2 separate regions of the Homo sapiens genome follow, and region 1 is linked to region 2. Evidence: promoter capture Hi-C in 16 types of primary human blood cells and fetal thymus (Javierre and others, 2016). All regions are on one chromosome and are shown on one strand. Each heading gives the region's core, a stretch centred on a gene start or on the middle of the fragment in contact. The rest is flanking DNA. Distances are from core to core; before and after follow the strand shown.

The links. Contacts are between HindIII fragments. The CHiCAGO score rates a contact against its expected background, and 5 or more counts as called.
Region 1: a contact is called between the fragment with the promoter of RFXAP here and a fragment that was not itself captured in region 2, in 1 of 17 cell types (total CD4 T cells). The highest score is 6.9, in total CD4 T cells.

Annotation. Positions count from the first base shown.
Region 1 is chr13:36,814,802-36,822,048 of GRCh38, forward strand. RFXAP (regulatory factor X associated protein) reads left to right here and starts at 4,421. Exons shown (of 3, transcript NM_000538.4): 1 at 4,421-5,156. The coding sequence starts at 4,557. LOC124903158 (a long non-coding RNA gene) reads right to left here and starts at 4,270. Exons shown (of 2, transcript XR_007063760.1): 1 at 3,366-4,270; 2 at 870-1,340. RefSeq lists a silencer at 4,339-4,708 and enhancers at 4,939-4,988, 4,999-5,228. The HindIII fragment of the contact is 8,641 bases long and covers 679-7,247 here.
Region 2 is chr13:44,913,620-44,920,784 of GRCh38, forward strand. All of the region lies in intron 1 of LOC107984619 (a long non-coding RNA gene), which reads right to left. TRE-TTC2-1 (tRNA-Glu (anticodon TTC) 2-1) reads right to left here and starts at 4,379; the gene lies at 4,308-4,379. RefSeq lists an enhancer at 4,885-5,214. The HindIII fragment of the contact is 1,285 bases long and covers 890-2,174 here.

The DNA of each region.
Region 1 (7,247 bases), core at 3,171-5,670, 8.1 Mb before region 2:
TTCTTTCTTGTAAGGAGGTAAGAATTGAGGTCACTGCAGACCGGTACGGATTCATTGCTCCTAACAAAATGTCTAGAAAAGGCAAATCTATGGAGACAAAGATTAGTGGATTCCTGGGGCTGGAAGTAGGAGCAGGGATTGACTGAGAATGGATAATAAGGGTCTTTTGTGGAGAGATGGAAATGTTCTAAAACCTTTTTGTAAAAATGATTGCAACTCTACAAATTTACTAAAAATCTTTAAATTGTATACTTACAATAAGTGGACTTTATGGTGTGTAAATTTGTCTTAGTTCATCTTCTGTCACTGTAATAGAATACCACACACTGGGTAATTTACAAAGAACAGAAGTTTATGTGGCTCACAGTTCAAGTGGCTGAAAAGTCCAAGAGCACAGCTCTGGCATCTGATCAGGGTAATACCAAAGTTGAAGGGCAGAGGGCAGAAGCAAGCATAGACAGAGTATATGACACTGAATTTATCTGTTTATCAGGAGCCCACTCCTGTGATAACTAAGCCATAACGGCATTAATCCATTCATGAGGGCTAACCACCTCTTAAAGGCCCCACTTACTAATACTGTTAACAATGGCAATTGTTTCCAACACATTAACTTTTGAGGGACATGTTCAAACCGCAGCAAAATCATACCTCAAAAAAAAGTAGGTTTATTTTTTAAGCTTACTGCCACTTATTGAACACCATAACAGGTATTTGTACTAAGATTTAAATAATACTGCTCCGAGTAATATGCTGGTAAAAAAAATTTTTAACCAGTTAACTGATGGCTGGAAATGAAACAAAACTTTTCTCCCACCTGCTTAGGTTTCTTGCCTGGGAGCTTGTAAATTAAACTCACAAAAGATAGATTAGTAAAAGAAAAGGGTTTATTTACAAGAACTACATGTACATAGGAGGGCTCAGAGATGAGTTACTGAAATGGATGGTTAGAATTTGAGGCTTATATACCTAAATTAGTAAGGAAAGGGAAGACGGAGTAAATGTTCCTATGGGATGAACAAATAGGTTCCTTTAGGAAAAACAAATGTGGTTTTAGGAGAACAAATGAGCAATAAGGCATTTTGTGATAATATATGTTTATGTAGGTTTTCTGAACTCATGGTCATGGGGTATTTATGGTAGATTTACTCTTGGTCTCTCTCCTGGTAGTAGCTTTCCTCAAGAGGGAATTTATGATGGTCTTCATTTATCAGAAGTTTCAGCTTCTAGTCAGATAAAGGAAGCTCTGAGAAGGCTTCTTTCTGTATCAATTGAATCTCAAGTGTCTTCAGCTTAAAATAATCTTTATGCCAATTCTGGGGTTCTGGGTGTGTCACTACCTGAGATAAAGAATATTAGCACGTGATTCACAAACATTGATAAAATATACAATACTCAATACTGTAAATTCTATACATCCATAACTTCAAGGTGACTTGACTTCTTATGAAAATCACTATCAGTTTTTATGAATTCACCAACAACAGTGTCCCAAATTCAAAATAAGAATAAATGCAGCCAGACGAGGTGGCTCACGCCTGTAATCCCAGCACTTTGGGAGGCTGAAGTGGGCAGATCGCTTGAGGTCAGGAGTTCGAGACCAGCCTGGCCAACACGGTGAAACCCCGTCTCTACTAAAAATTCAAAAATTAGCCGGGCGTGGTGGCGGGTGCCTGTAATCCCAGCTACTCAGGAGGCTGAGGCAGGAGAATCACTTGAACCCAGGAGGCAGAGGTTGCAGTCAGCCAAGACCATGTCACTGCATTCCAGCCTGGGCAACAAGAGTGAAACTCTGTCTCCAAAAAAAAAAAAAAAAAGAATAAATGCTTGACTATTCACAATAGCAAAGACATGGAAGCAACCTAAATGCCCATCAATGGTAGACTAAATAAAGAAAATATGATACATATACACCATGAAATACTATGCAGCCACAAAAAGGAATGATACCATGTCCTTCACAGCGACATGGATGGAGTTGGAAGCCATTAACCTCAGCAAACTAACACAGAAACAGAAAACCAAACGCCACATCTTCTCACTGATAAGTGAGAGCTGAACGATAAAAACACATGGACACAATGGGGAACAACACACACTGGGGCCTGTTAAAGGTGGGTGTGGGGGAGGGAGAGCATCAGGAAGAATAGCTGATGAATGCTGGGCTTAATACCTAGGTGATGGGATGATCTGTGCAGTGAACTACTATGGCACGTGTTTATCTATCTACCAAACCTGCACATCCTGCACATGTATCCCTGAGCTTAAAATAAAAGTCGAAGAAAAAAAGTAACATTATTTATGAATAAAGTTATATTTTTTCATTTAAAAAAAGGAATAAATGCTTGGTTTCTGTCCAATTCAGTAAAGAAGTAAAGTGTACTTTTTGTTCTTTTTCTTTTTTTTGATGATGGCAAGGACATAAAGTTTTGACATGAATGTTGATAGACATTTTTGTTTATATTGAGAAAAAACAAAAGTGAAACAATGAAGATGTATATAAGGTCTTCACTTGTTCAATGATGTGATGTAAGCAGTTTCTTTGCTGAATTGCATGATAGTTTTCAAATACTGAAAGAATATTTTCTCAGTTGGGGGGGTTGGATATTCACAATGTGAGAGCTGCAGATAGAATACATTTTCAGTTTAATCTTTTTCTTTTTCTTTTTTTCTTTTTTGATGGAGTCTCACTCTGTTGCCCAGGCTGGAGTGCAGTGGCACAGTCTTGGCTTACTGCAATCTCTTCCTCCTGGGTTCGAGCGATTCTCATGCCTCAGCCTCCTGAGTAGCTGGGATTATAGGTGTGGACCACCACACCTGGCTGATTTTTGTATTTTTAGTAGAGACGGGGTTTCATCATGTTGGTCAGGCTGGTCTCGAACTCGTGACCTCGTGATCCACCTGCCTGAGCCTCCCAAAGCGCTGGGATTACAGGTGGGAGCCACTGAGCCTGGCCTTAAATTTAATCTTCATTAACATTTTCACTGTCACTTTCTTAAGTGCAGAGACAATCAGCAATAAGTGTAAACCTGCTTCGTAGCATTTGATCATTTCCCTGGTGTAAATACTCCAAAAGTGGCTGATTTCAAGCAATCAACATGACATACTGAAGGCAGAGTTGGGAAAATGTGCAGTAACACACCACTAAATAATATTTCCGCATACAGATACAATAGACATAAATAACCTTAAAAGCACAGATAATGATAAAACATAATAAAATAATTAGAAAATGAAGAGTTTTGAGATTTGTACCCTTTGTTTTTAATATAATCTTATTGTAAGTTTATGTAGTAAGACTTTTAATAATAGCAGTGTTTAATTTTTCTGCTAATTATATTCCTGAAATTTTAGCAACCAGTTACCATCAGTTGGCGCTAGCACACCACCGACTGCAGGCTTTACTGATGAGGAAACTGAGGCTCGGAGAGGCTGTCACGAACTTGCTGTAGTCACACAGGAAGTACTACCTAGGTTGCTCTAATTCCAAACCTTCTCCCTTCCATATGCCTCTCTTTAAAACATAACTGATCTACCTATATGTCAGCACCCAAACATCTTAGTGTGAATGGATTTATAGTTTGTTGAATAAAGTCATTGCTTTCCGGTAGGTGGGATGGGAAATCTGACTAGGCGAAAGAATAGGATGAAGGGAAAAAGAACATCTACTTAACAGTTCAGGATACGGCAGGATATTTTCTCTCCTGGGATTTGGGCAAGCCAAGATTTAACAACCAGCAATTGCCCAGCAACTGATAGAACTGGTAGAACATTCATTGTTTTTTTAAACGTTTGCCATTCAGTATTCCTTTTCACACATTTTCACTGTGTTAAACGAAAACGTTAAGACTTATCTCAGCAGCCACAGCAAAGAGCAAGTACTAACAATCAAGTGAGTTTCCAGGAGAAAAAAAACAAAGTTATCCCTCAATGCAAATACAACTCGGCCAAAGGTGTGGCCCATCCCTCTCCGCTCCACTATTTTCAAATAAGCCACCTCTGCCTTCATGGACTGCGAGCTAGTGACTCTAGGCTGTGACACCACTGCATCCCAGCTTCAAATCTCCCCTTGCAGGCAGTTTGTGGGGGAAATAATAAAATTAGCATCCTAACACTACAAGTCGTGAGACCGCTCAGGAACAATCCTAATTTGCATACTGGAACTCCTGTAGAAGATACTTTGAACCGCTTTAGATACAATAGGATCAGGTAAAACGGCGCTGCCTTGCCAGCCACTGCAGGTTTTCACCTGACACAGCCCCCAGACCCTGTCTACGAATCCCCCAGCTGGCCGAAGGGGCCGCGGCCGCACATGCGCAGTCAGTCCCGTTGGTTGTGCGCTCAGCCCCGCCCCCAGAGGCGCCGCGCTCCCTGACAGCCCGCGGGCGTACACACGCTGACGCGCAGGCTGCGGTCGCGCAGGCGCAGTCGGGGCGCCTTCCCGGTATAGGCGCCTTTTACCCCAGCGTGTCCTGAGTCTTTGGTTCGCGAAGTGCCGTTAGGCCAAGCAGGTGCTAAAAGCCCGGGGTCGTGGACCCCGGCCAGGTCTTAGCAGCATGGAGGCGCAGGGTGTAGCGGAGGGCGCGGGGCCGGGCGCCGCCAGCGGCGTGCCCCACCCCGCGGCCCTAGCCCCGGCTGCGGCTCCCACCTTGGCGCCAGCCTCGGTGGCGGCCGCGGCCTCTCAATTCACCCTGCTAGTGATGCAACCCTGTGCTGGGCAGGACGAGGCTGCGGCCCCCGGGGGCAGCGTTGGGGCGGGCAAGCCCGTTAGGTACCTGTGCGAAGGGGCCGGGGATGGCGAAGAGGAGGCTGGGGAGGACGAGGCGGACCTGTTAGACACTTCGGACCCTCCGGGGGGAGGCGAGAGCGCGGCTAGTTTGGAGGATCTAGAGGACGAGGAGACTCACTCGGGGGGCGAGGGCAGCAGCGGGGGCGCCCGGAGGCGGGGCAGCGGTGGGGGCAGCATGAGCAAGACCTGCACCTACGAAGGCTGCAGCGAGACCACGAGCCAGGTGGCCAAGCAGCGCAAACCGTGGATGTGCAAGAAACACCGCAACAAGATGTACAAGGACAAGTATAAAAAGAAGAAGAGCGACCAGGCCCTGAACTGCGGTGGGACTGCCTCGACTGGCAGCGCGGGAAACGTCAAACTCGAGGTATCAGACTTAGCTGAGGCCTGGGGATGGGAGGTGGAAGAAGAAACCCGATCTTAACGCAAACCGCATCTGCAGGGCCTGCCTCCCCACTTCCAAATGGGCCGGTTTGCAGTGACTGGGTTAGTGGTTGAGAATTAGAGTGTTTGCCCTAAATTAAAGTTTATACCAACATGTGCAAAGCAATAACAGTTCTGTTGAACTCATGATAGGTGCAGAAATTTCAGTAAAAATAATGTGACATCGGCAGAGCTGTCATAGATCTGGGATATGGCTGGAAGGACATAGAGTAAATGATCGGTCTGGTTCATCGCTAAAGGAGACTTAGGAACCTAGATGAAGTTGGTACTTCTGAGAAAGTCATCTCTTTCTGTTTTCACTACTCTATTCTCAGTATCCAGTTCTCAGTACCCAGTTCTCAGTACCTCTATTTGTAATACTCCTGTATTTAGTACTTTGTTTTTAGTGTCCTGTTCTGTTAACCCTCTTCCTAGTACCGTATTTTTAGTACTGCTATACTCAGTTGCCTGTCTGTAGTACCCCTGTACGTAGTACTCTTTTCTTACAACTCTGTTCCCAGTACCCCTATGTTTAGTCCCTTGTTCTCATGTTCTCACTACCCCAATACTTAATATACTTTGTTCTCAGTATCCTTGTTGTTAGTACCCTGTTCTCACTACCCCTTTTCTTAGTACCCCTGAGGGGGGAAAAAAAGGATGATAATGGGGTATAAGTCTCAAAAAACTTTTGGATTGTTTGATTTGAACTGAGTCAAAGGTAAAACCAGTGTTCTGGAGTTCGACTTCTGGGTGCAAATCCCTGTTGCATCATTTACTGGCCTTGTGGCTTGAATAGGTTATTAAACTCTGTAAAATGGGCATTAAAATCGTGTGTCATTCATAGTGTTGCTGTGAATATGTGAGCCATTCCATATTGAGGGTTCACACAGTGTCCAGCAACTGGCTAAAGTTTGCAAACCTTACCCATTATTATTGTCATTGTTAGTGGTATACTTTGAGGCTGTCACAAATAAGCAGATATTTCTTCTTGTGAGAGCTATATAATCCCTTAGTGTAGAGAAAAATTTAATTTTGTTACAAGTGATCCAAGCCAGGTATGGTGGCAAGTGCCTGTATACCCAGCTGTACTTGGGAGGGTGAAGTGGGAAGATTGCTTGAGACCAGGGGTTCGAGGCTGCCGTGAGCCTTGTTTGCATCACTGCATTCCAGCCTGGATGACATAGCAAGACCCTGTCTCCTTAAAAAAAAAAAAAAAAAAAAAAAAAAAATTTTTTTTAACTGCAAGCTGTCTTAGGGTCCTAGGATGTATTCTAAGTCTTTAAATTTCTTAGTTTCAGGCTGAACTTGAAGTGCTCCATCACTAAAATATTAGACCTTGTAATTGTTTACAAATGTAATGTTCTAGGCCAGGCTCAGTGGCTAATACCTGTAAGCCCAGAACTTGGGGAGGCCTAGGAGGGAGGATCGCTTGAGCCCGGAAGTTTGAGACCAGCCTGGGTAACATAGGGAGACCCCATCTCAACAAAAAAATTTTAAAAATTAGCCAGGTATGTTGGCACATGCCTGTGGTCCTAGCTACTCGGGAGGCTGAGGTGGAAGGATCATTGAGCCCAGGAGATTGAGGCTGCAGTGAGCCATGGTTGTGCTACTTCACTCCAGCCTGGGTGACAGAGCAAGACTTTGTCTCAAAAACAAAAAGTATAATATTCTAAATATTTCTAAAATTTGCAGTTGCCAGTGTGTCATACTTAATTCACACTGGTTAGGACTGAGTGACTTCTCTTTCCCTTAAGTTTTACTCTTTTGGAGTAAGAGGACTTCTTTGAGGGTCTGGTGACTTAATGAAGACTCTTCCTAGAAAAATCCACTATGTAACTTTAATTTTGCATACTAATTAATGGGCTCAGGACTTCTGTAATCTTAGTTTAAAAACCCCCTCAATCCATATTCTTATAGTATGTTTTACCAAATCTCTGATTACGGGGATTTAGGGAAATAAGCATCTGGAAAAGAATGAAAGTTAGTAAAGGTGATCAAGTTTCTTCCTCAGTATGTTCCACAGGTGCCCATTCAC
Region 2 (7,165 bases), core at 282-2,781:
ATGATGACAATGATGATGATGGTGATGATGATGACGGTGATGGCCTTAAACTGGGCTAAGCCTTTTATGCGCATTATGTCATTTAATCTTCACAACCCTATGAAGTAGGTCCCATTCTTATCCCCACGTTAGATTCTAGAAAACTGAGGAACAGAGAGATTAAGTAACTCAAACAAGGAGATCTTGGATGACACTAAAAAATAAGTAATCCAAGTAGAAAAGGACTTGGGAAGGAGAAAGAGGTCACTTTTGCACATACTGTGTTGAAGTTGCCTATTTGCATAAAGCTGAGCCCCCAACTTCAGTTTGACTGTATCCCTATGAAACAGGAATAGTCTTACCTACATTTTCTTTCTTTCTTTCTTTCTTTTTTTTTTTTTTTTTTTTTTTTTTTTGAAACAGAGTCTGGCTCTGTCTCCCAGGCTGGAGTGCAGTGGTGCGATTTCGGCTCACTACAACCTCTACCTTCCAGGCTGAAGCCATTCTCCCATCTCAGCCTCCTGAGTAGCTGGGACTACAGGCGTGCACCACCAGCTATTTTTTTGTGTTTTTTGTAGAGACGAGGGGCAGGAGGAAGCGATTTGTGTTTTTTGTAGAGACGGGCGGCGGGGAGGGGTAGAAGACGGTGCCGGGGTTGGGAGGGTGTCTCGCTTTTTTGCCCAAGCTGGCCTGGAACTCTTGAGCTCAAGCTATCCACCCACCTCGGCCTCCCAGAGTGCTAGGATTACAGACATGAGCCACCATGCCGGCCATACCTACATTTTCTTAATGAGTACACAACAAGTTGCAAAATCCCAAGCTTTCTTAAATCAGGATAGATTATGTTGATTGCTCCCCCATCTACCATGGCTGTCACTCTGCGACAAAAGGAAATTAGATTCATCTGATAAGCTTTGTTTTTCACAAAGTAATGTGGGATGATTACCCAGTGCCCTGTGGTCTTCTAGAAGTTTGCAAATTGATTTTTTGATTATTTGTTCCAGTGATTTTCCAAGTAGTCAGTGTTTTTCCAAGTTATTCAGCTTTACAGTGTGGGTGAGTTAAAATTCATATTTGCTTTCATATTAATATATGAAGTGTTAATGTAATTATTTAGGATATTTTTGCATGCGGCATCAGATATACTCTGAGGGAACATACATATGAATCTGCATGACTATAAATACACTTGTTGAGGGGCACAAAGCAATTTTCATGTGGAATCCATCAGAGTTTATGACTATATGCAAAAATGAAAGCATACAGGAACACATGGTTAGTTCAAATACCCCAAACAGGTTAAGCTCATCACTTTCTAGAAATGATTATATATGATGAATTTTTTTAAAAAAAAACTTCACGTAGAAAAATTACTACTATGTTTATGCAGCTATGCTGTGAACACTGACCAAAAATACAAGAGAATATTTTTTTGGCCAGGCACGGTGGCTCACGCCTGTAATCTCAGCACTTTGGGAGGCTGAGGCAGGCGGATCACTTGGGGTCAGGAATTCAAGATCAGCCTGGCCAACATGGTGAAATCCCATCTCTACTAAAAACATAAAACTTAGCTGGGTGCGGTGGCGCACACCTAAAATCCCAGCTAGTCAGGAGGCTGAGACCCGAGAATCGTTCCAACCCAGGAGTCAGAAATTGCAGTGAGCTGAGATCGCGCCACTGCACTCCAGTCTGGGTGACAGAGGGAGACCTTATCTCAAAATAAATAAATAAATAAATAAATAAATAAATAAATAAATAAATAAAAATAATTGAATCTTCTCTGCACTCAATCCCCCTAAGCCCCGCTCCTTGACGCCAGGATTTGGAGAGAGTGGTGTCTGGCTAGAGCACCAGACAGGAATTCAATCTTTTGTGGATACAATCTAAAGTCCAATACTAGGGAATCAGAGAAATAAAATCTCAGAATAGATGTTTCCCGGGTAAAACGAGGGTCTAAGTTAAACGACTGCTAAGGGCCTTTCCAGCTCAAATAGTCTATGAATCTAAAGACTATGAGGATGATGAATGGAAGTTATGGCAAAATGTTTTACAAAAAGGGAAAGCCATAAAAATGCCAAATATAACTGAAGTAACCATCTCCCCACAAAGTGAAACCCTTTCATATCATTAAGTACCTGTCTTCAGAAATATCTACTATGCTCTGAGTCCACCAAATATTACAGCCATCTCAAGAAAGCTTCTGTCAAATCCATGAGGTCAAAACTCTATTTTATGAAAATGAATGATTAATAGGATGAGTAGACATGACAGCCTTCATATAAATGGAATTCACCTGCCATCTGAAAGCAGTTTTGTCTTGCTTTTTGGAGACAGGATCTCACTAGCCCAGAATGGAGTGCAGCAGCAATCATAGCTCACTGCAGCCTCGAACTCCTGGCCTCAAGCGATCCTCCCACCTCAGCCTCTTGAGCAGCTAGGACTACAGGCACGCACCACTGCCTGGCAAATTTTTTTTTTTTTTTTATTTTTTTATTTTTGAGACGGTGTCTCCTTACGCTGTGCAGGCTGGTCTTGGTCTCCAATTCCTGCTCGAGTGATACTCCCACCTCGGCCTCACAAAGTGTTGGGATTATAGCCATGAGCCACTGCCCCTGGCCTAAAAACAAGTTTAAAACAAACAAAAACTACACAGCTTCTGCCTGGCAGCCCCCGGCATCAGCTATCCTCCCTGGCCTTGCCCCTTAGGCTCAGGAGCTGTGAGAGCTGCATTACCCCTTCTTGTTTCCCTAAACCCTAAGAAAAACTTAAATAATCCTTGATTAAGCACTCTGCTAAGAATATATCACGAGTTTCCTACAGGGCCGCGATTGATACAGGGATAATAATATCATCTGAGAGTAAAATAATCTAAAATAATAATCAAAAAATAAAAATAGGCCCGGTGCGGTGGCTCACGCCTGTAATCCCAGCACTTTGGGAAGCCGAGGTGGGTGGATCACCTGAGGTCAGGAGTTCTAGACCAGCCTGACCAACATGGGGAAACCCCATCTCTATTAAAAATACAAGATTAGCTGGGCATGGTGGTGGGCCCCTGTAACCCCAGCTACTCGGGAGGCTGAGGCAGCAGACTCGCCGGAATCCGGGAGGCAGAGGTTGCAGTGAGCCGAGATCGTGCCATTGCACTCCAGCCTGGGGGACAAGAGCGAGATCATGCCTGTAATCCCAGCACTTTGGGAGGCCAAGGCAGGGGGATCACGAGGTCAGGAGATCGAGACCATCCTGGCTAACACGGTGAAACCCCGTCTCTACTAAAAAATACAAGAAATGAGCCGGGCGTGGTGGCGGGCGCCTGTAGTCCCAGCTACTCGGGAGGCTGAGGCAGGAGAATGGCGTGAACCCGGGAGGCGGAGCTTGCAGTGAGCCGAGATCGCGCCACTGCACTGCAGCCCGTGCGACATAACTAGACTCCGTCTCAAAAAACAAACAAAAAAAATTATAGTCTTTATTTTAGTCTTTAAATATAGTCTTCATTTTAGATAATCTCATCTAATAACAAAGGGATGCATTTATTTGCATAACAATTGGAAACTGTCACAAGTCAATACTAAGACTTCTAATTCTAATCTAGCATATCACAAATTCTTAAAGTTTTTTTAAAACAATGTGTCAAATAAATATATCAAGAGTAAAATGTTTTGGTTTCGTTTTGTTTTGTTTTGTTTTGCCATCGGCTGGAGCCTCAGTATTTGTTATAACCTAATTTTCTTCCCCGCCTTCCAAACTGGTTTAGTTAACTCTCTGCATCACAAACACAACAAATTGTACATTGAACTACCCTGCCTTTAATATATGTATTTTCTAGAAATCTTGTTGTCCTAGAATGACTTTAGGTAACTTAAAAGCCCTGCAATGCCTCCCTCCCTCTCCCAGCATCCTCCTAACAACAACAAAAAAACCCTATAATGTTCTAAAATTGCATCTTTCCTTTTTCTTTCAAAAAAGAGCACTCTTTTGGTCATTTGCTCATCTTCACAGTACAAGGAGAAAATACTGGAGAAAAACCAGCGGGTGTATTTCGGCATGCGACCGCTTGGTTCCCCCGCTTTCCTTCACCTCTGACCTAATCTCTCACTTCAAAAACTGACTTCAAGCTGTTGCCAGATACGTCCCTTCCGCCGCCTGCCGCAGGTGGCTAGGGTCTGAGCACACTTGAACCTCACACCCGCCCCAGGGGTAGCTCCTTGGTTCCCTTCAGCCCCGATGTGTCCCTCGTGCTTTGAAATGGAATTACAGTTTTGGTTAAAAACATGCCTTTTCCGAGTTAGGAAGAATCTAAATCGACTGAACGCCAGTCTAAAATTTCGGCGTTCCCACACCGGGAGTCGAACCCGGGCCGCCTGGGTGAAAACCAGGAATCCTAACCGCTAGACCATGTGGGAGACGGCAATAGCGACTCCAAGCCTAGACAAATTGAGTCTTCTCGGTCGGCTTCCGCCCACTCCATCGCGTTCATCCGTAGGCGTCAAACCTGCTCCTGCGCCTGCGCGGAGTCTGCAGCGGTTTAAACCGTTCAGGTTCGCATTCTACTGTTTCTCTCCTTGCAGGGGCCCTTGAATCTTTCTTCAATCTACTCTCGCGTCTTTCGTGATCTCATCCAGTCTCCTGGTGCTAGGTACCATGTCGACACCAATGTAGACACTAGATTGGATGAGTCATTGTTCACAATTCCTCACAAAACTCCTGCAAAGTCCAAAAGAACTGGGGTTTGAATGTTAGAGGCTGGTGAAGAAGTGAGGACCACGGGGCGTCATAACACCGCGCAGTGGAGGCCACGCTGCACTGGCCGGTGTCCGCCGACAGGGTGTGTGCCACAGACGCGCAGTGCCTTGCCCGAATCTGTCCCTCCCCTCAGCGCTGGTCCAGGCTGGCCACAGGCACCACCCCGTCCCTGAAAGTGGATCTTTTCCTCTGAAAAAACAGGAATGAGAACTGCCCGGAAGCCTGGAACATTCCAGGTTCTGATGACTCAGCGGCTGAAGGCAGGATTTGTGTCACCGAAAGCAGCCAGAGTGGCGGTCTGTAAATGTAGCTTAGAAAAGTGGAGAAAGTCTCTTACTGCAGGCGTTCATGATAGATGGAAACTCCGTGTGGTTTCCAAGGCCCTCCTCGATTTGAAGCATTTCAAGGGAGCGGTTGATGCCTTAGCAGTCTACTGTTTGAATTAGGGAAATGCAAAGAGTCAGCCATTGGGGATAGCCGGCGGAGAGGAGCTGTGGCTCTGGTGTCCTCAGTGGCTTAAGCTACACATAAGTTGTGTTTACTAGCAGAAACTGTGTTAATGGAAGTCTGGGGACAAATTGTGGAAGTTTCGAACAGTTCAACTAGCAGAGGACACTTTGAAGCCCACTTAAAAGCTAAGATCACTCCTCACACCCCCAACTGCCGCAGGGACTTAGAAGGTCCTCCTTCTCCCTCTCAGGCTAAGGTTCATCTGTGACATTCATCCTCAACAGAGGAGGGGCGAGAATAGACTGGAAATAGAAATTGTTCTGCCTCGCACTCATTACCACGAAGAAGCTCCCCAACAGGGAATGAACGCAACCCAACATAATTAAAAGTGAATATGGGCCGGGCGCGGTGGCTCACGCCTGTAATCCCAACACTTTGGGAGGCTGAGGAGAGTGGCTCACATCTGAGGTCAGGAGTTCGAGGCCAGCCTGGCCAATGTGGAGAAACCCCCGTCTCTATTAAAAATGCAAAAATTAGCCGGGCGTGGTGGCGCACGCCTGTAATCTCAGCTACTTGGGAGGCCGAGGCAGGGAGAATCGCTTGAACCGGGGAAGTGGAGGTTGTAGTGAGCTGAGATCATGCCACTGTACTCCAGCCTGGGTGACAGAGTAAGACTCTGTCTAAAAAAAAGAGAAAAGAAAAAAAAATGGGAATGTGGCTCTGAAAAAAACCAGAAGCATTGACAGCAAACCTACTCTGTGTATCAGACACATTCAAATGTGTTTATTTAATCCTCATAGTGTACCTATGAGGTAGGTCTTACCCACATTTTAGTTGGTTCTTCCTGTACTATCTTTGAACAGAGTACAGAGTTTCTTAATCAGACAACTGCTTTCCTTTTGAGGATATTTGCTTTGGAACACCAAAGAAAACTCTCCAAAACAAACGCCCTCAACTACGGAATACCTGACATCTGTGGTTCTCAATTTGAGGGCTCAGATTTCATAAATACTTTTCAGTTTTATATTTCCCTTTGATGATAATTCTTTTTAAAAAAGACATCTTACAGGTTTTCAAGATCTAATTTCTCACAGTAACCCATCCATTGGACGGGCACCATCCTTAGGATGTAACCAAAATGTGAATTTACTCTTGGTTTCTCACGATCACTAAACTGAAATTTGTTCCATTTTTCTCTTTACCAGTGGATGAAAACTCAAGCAGTAGCAGAAAGCCCTATGGTCACTTTATTTTTATTGTTTATTTTGAGACAGGGTCTCACTCAGTGACCCAGGCTGGAGTGCAGTGGCTTGATCTCGTCTTACTGCAGCCTTGACTTCCCAGGCTCAAGTGATCCTCCCATCTCAGCCTCCCAAGTAGCTGGGACTGCTGGTGGCACTCACCACCAAGCCCAGCTAATTCTTGTCTTTTTTGTAGAGACAGGGCTCCACCATGTTGCCAAGGCTGGTATCGAACTCCTGGGCTCAGGAGGCCCACTTTGGCCTCCCAAAGTGCTGGGAGCCCTGTGGCCACTTTAAGTAATAAAACACAATCCAGCGCAATACACTGTTTAACAGCTCAGTCCTCATTCTCAAATAGTTTGCCCCAGCCCAACTTGGGCATGATTTCCAGCTCGAAGTGGTGGTTTGCTGGAGCAGGCTCTTACTGCCTCACAGGAGCCCATGGTGGGCTTCTCTTCCTAACTCTGTGTTCAGTGACATCATATTGGTAGCCTGAGATGGCCACACTGGGAGTATTTACCCCATGGAAATAGGTAAATGCTACAAGGCAGGGCTTTTTCCTTGAAAAGCCAGTGTGCTGGTCAAAAAATAGCAATGTGCTGGTTAAATATCACACCAGGAATGAGCCACTTCTTTCTTTCTTTGGCCTTCTGCCTTTCGAGGCTCTGGGGTCCTCCAAGATTGGAGTGTGGGGAGGGGAACGAAAAGGGGCACAGGGCCGGGTGTGGTGGCTCACGCCTGTAATCCCAACACTT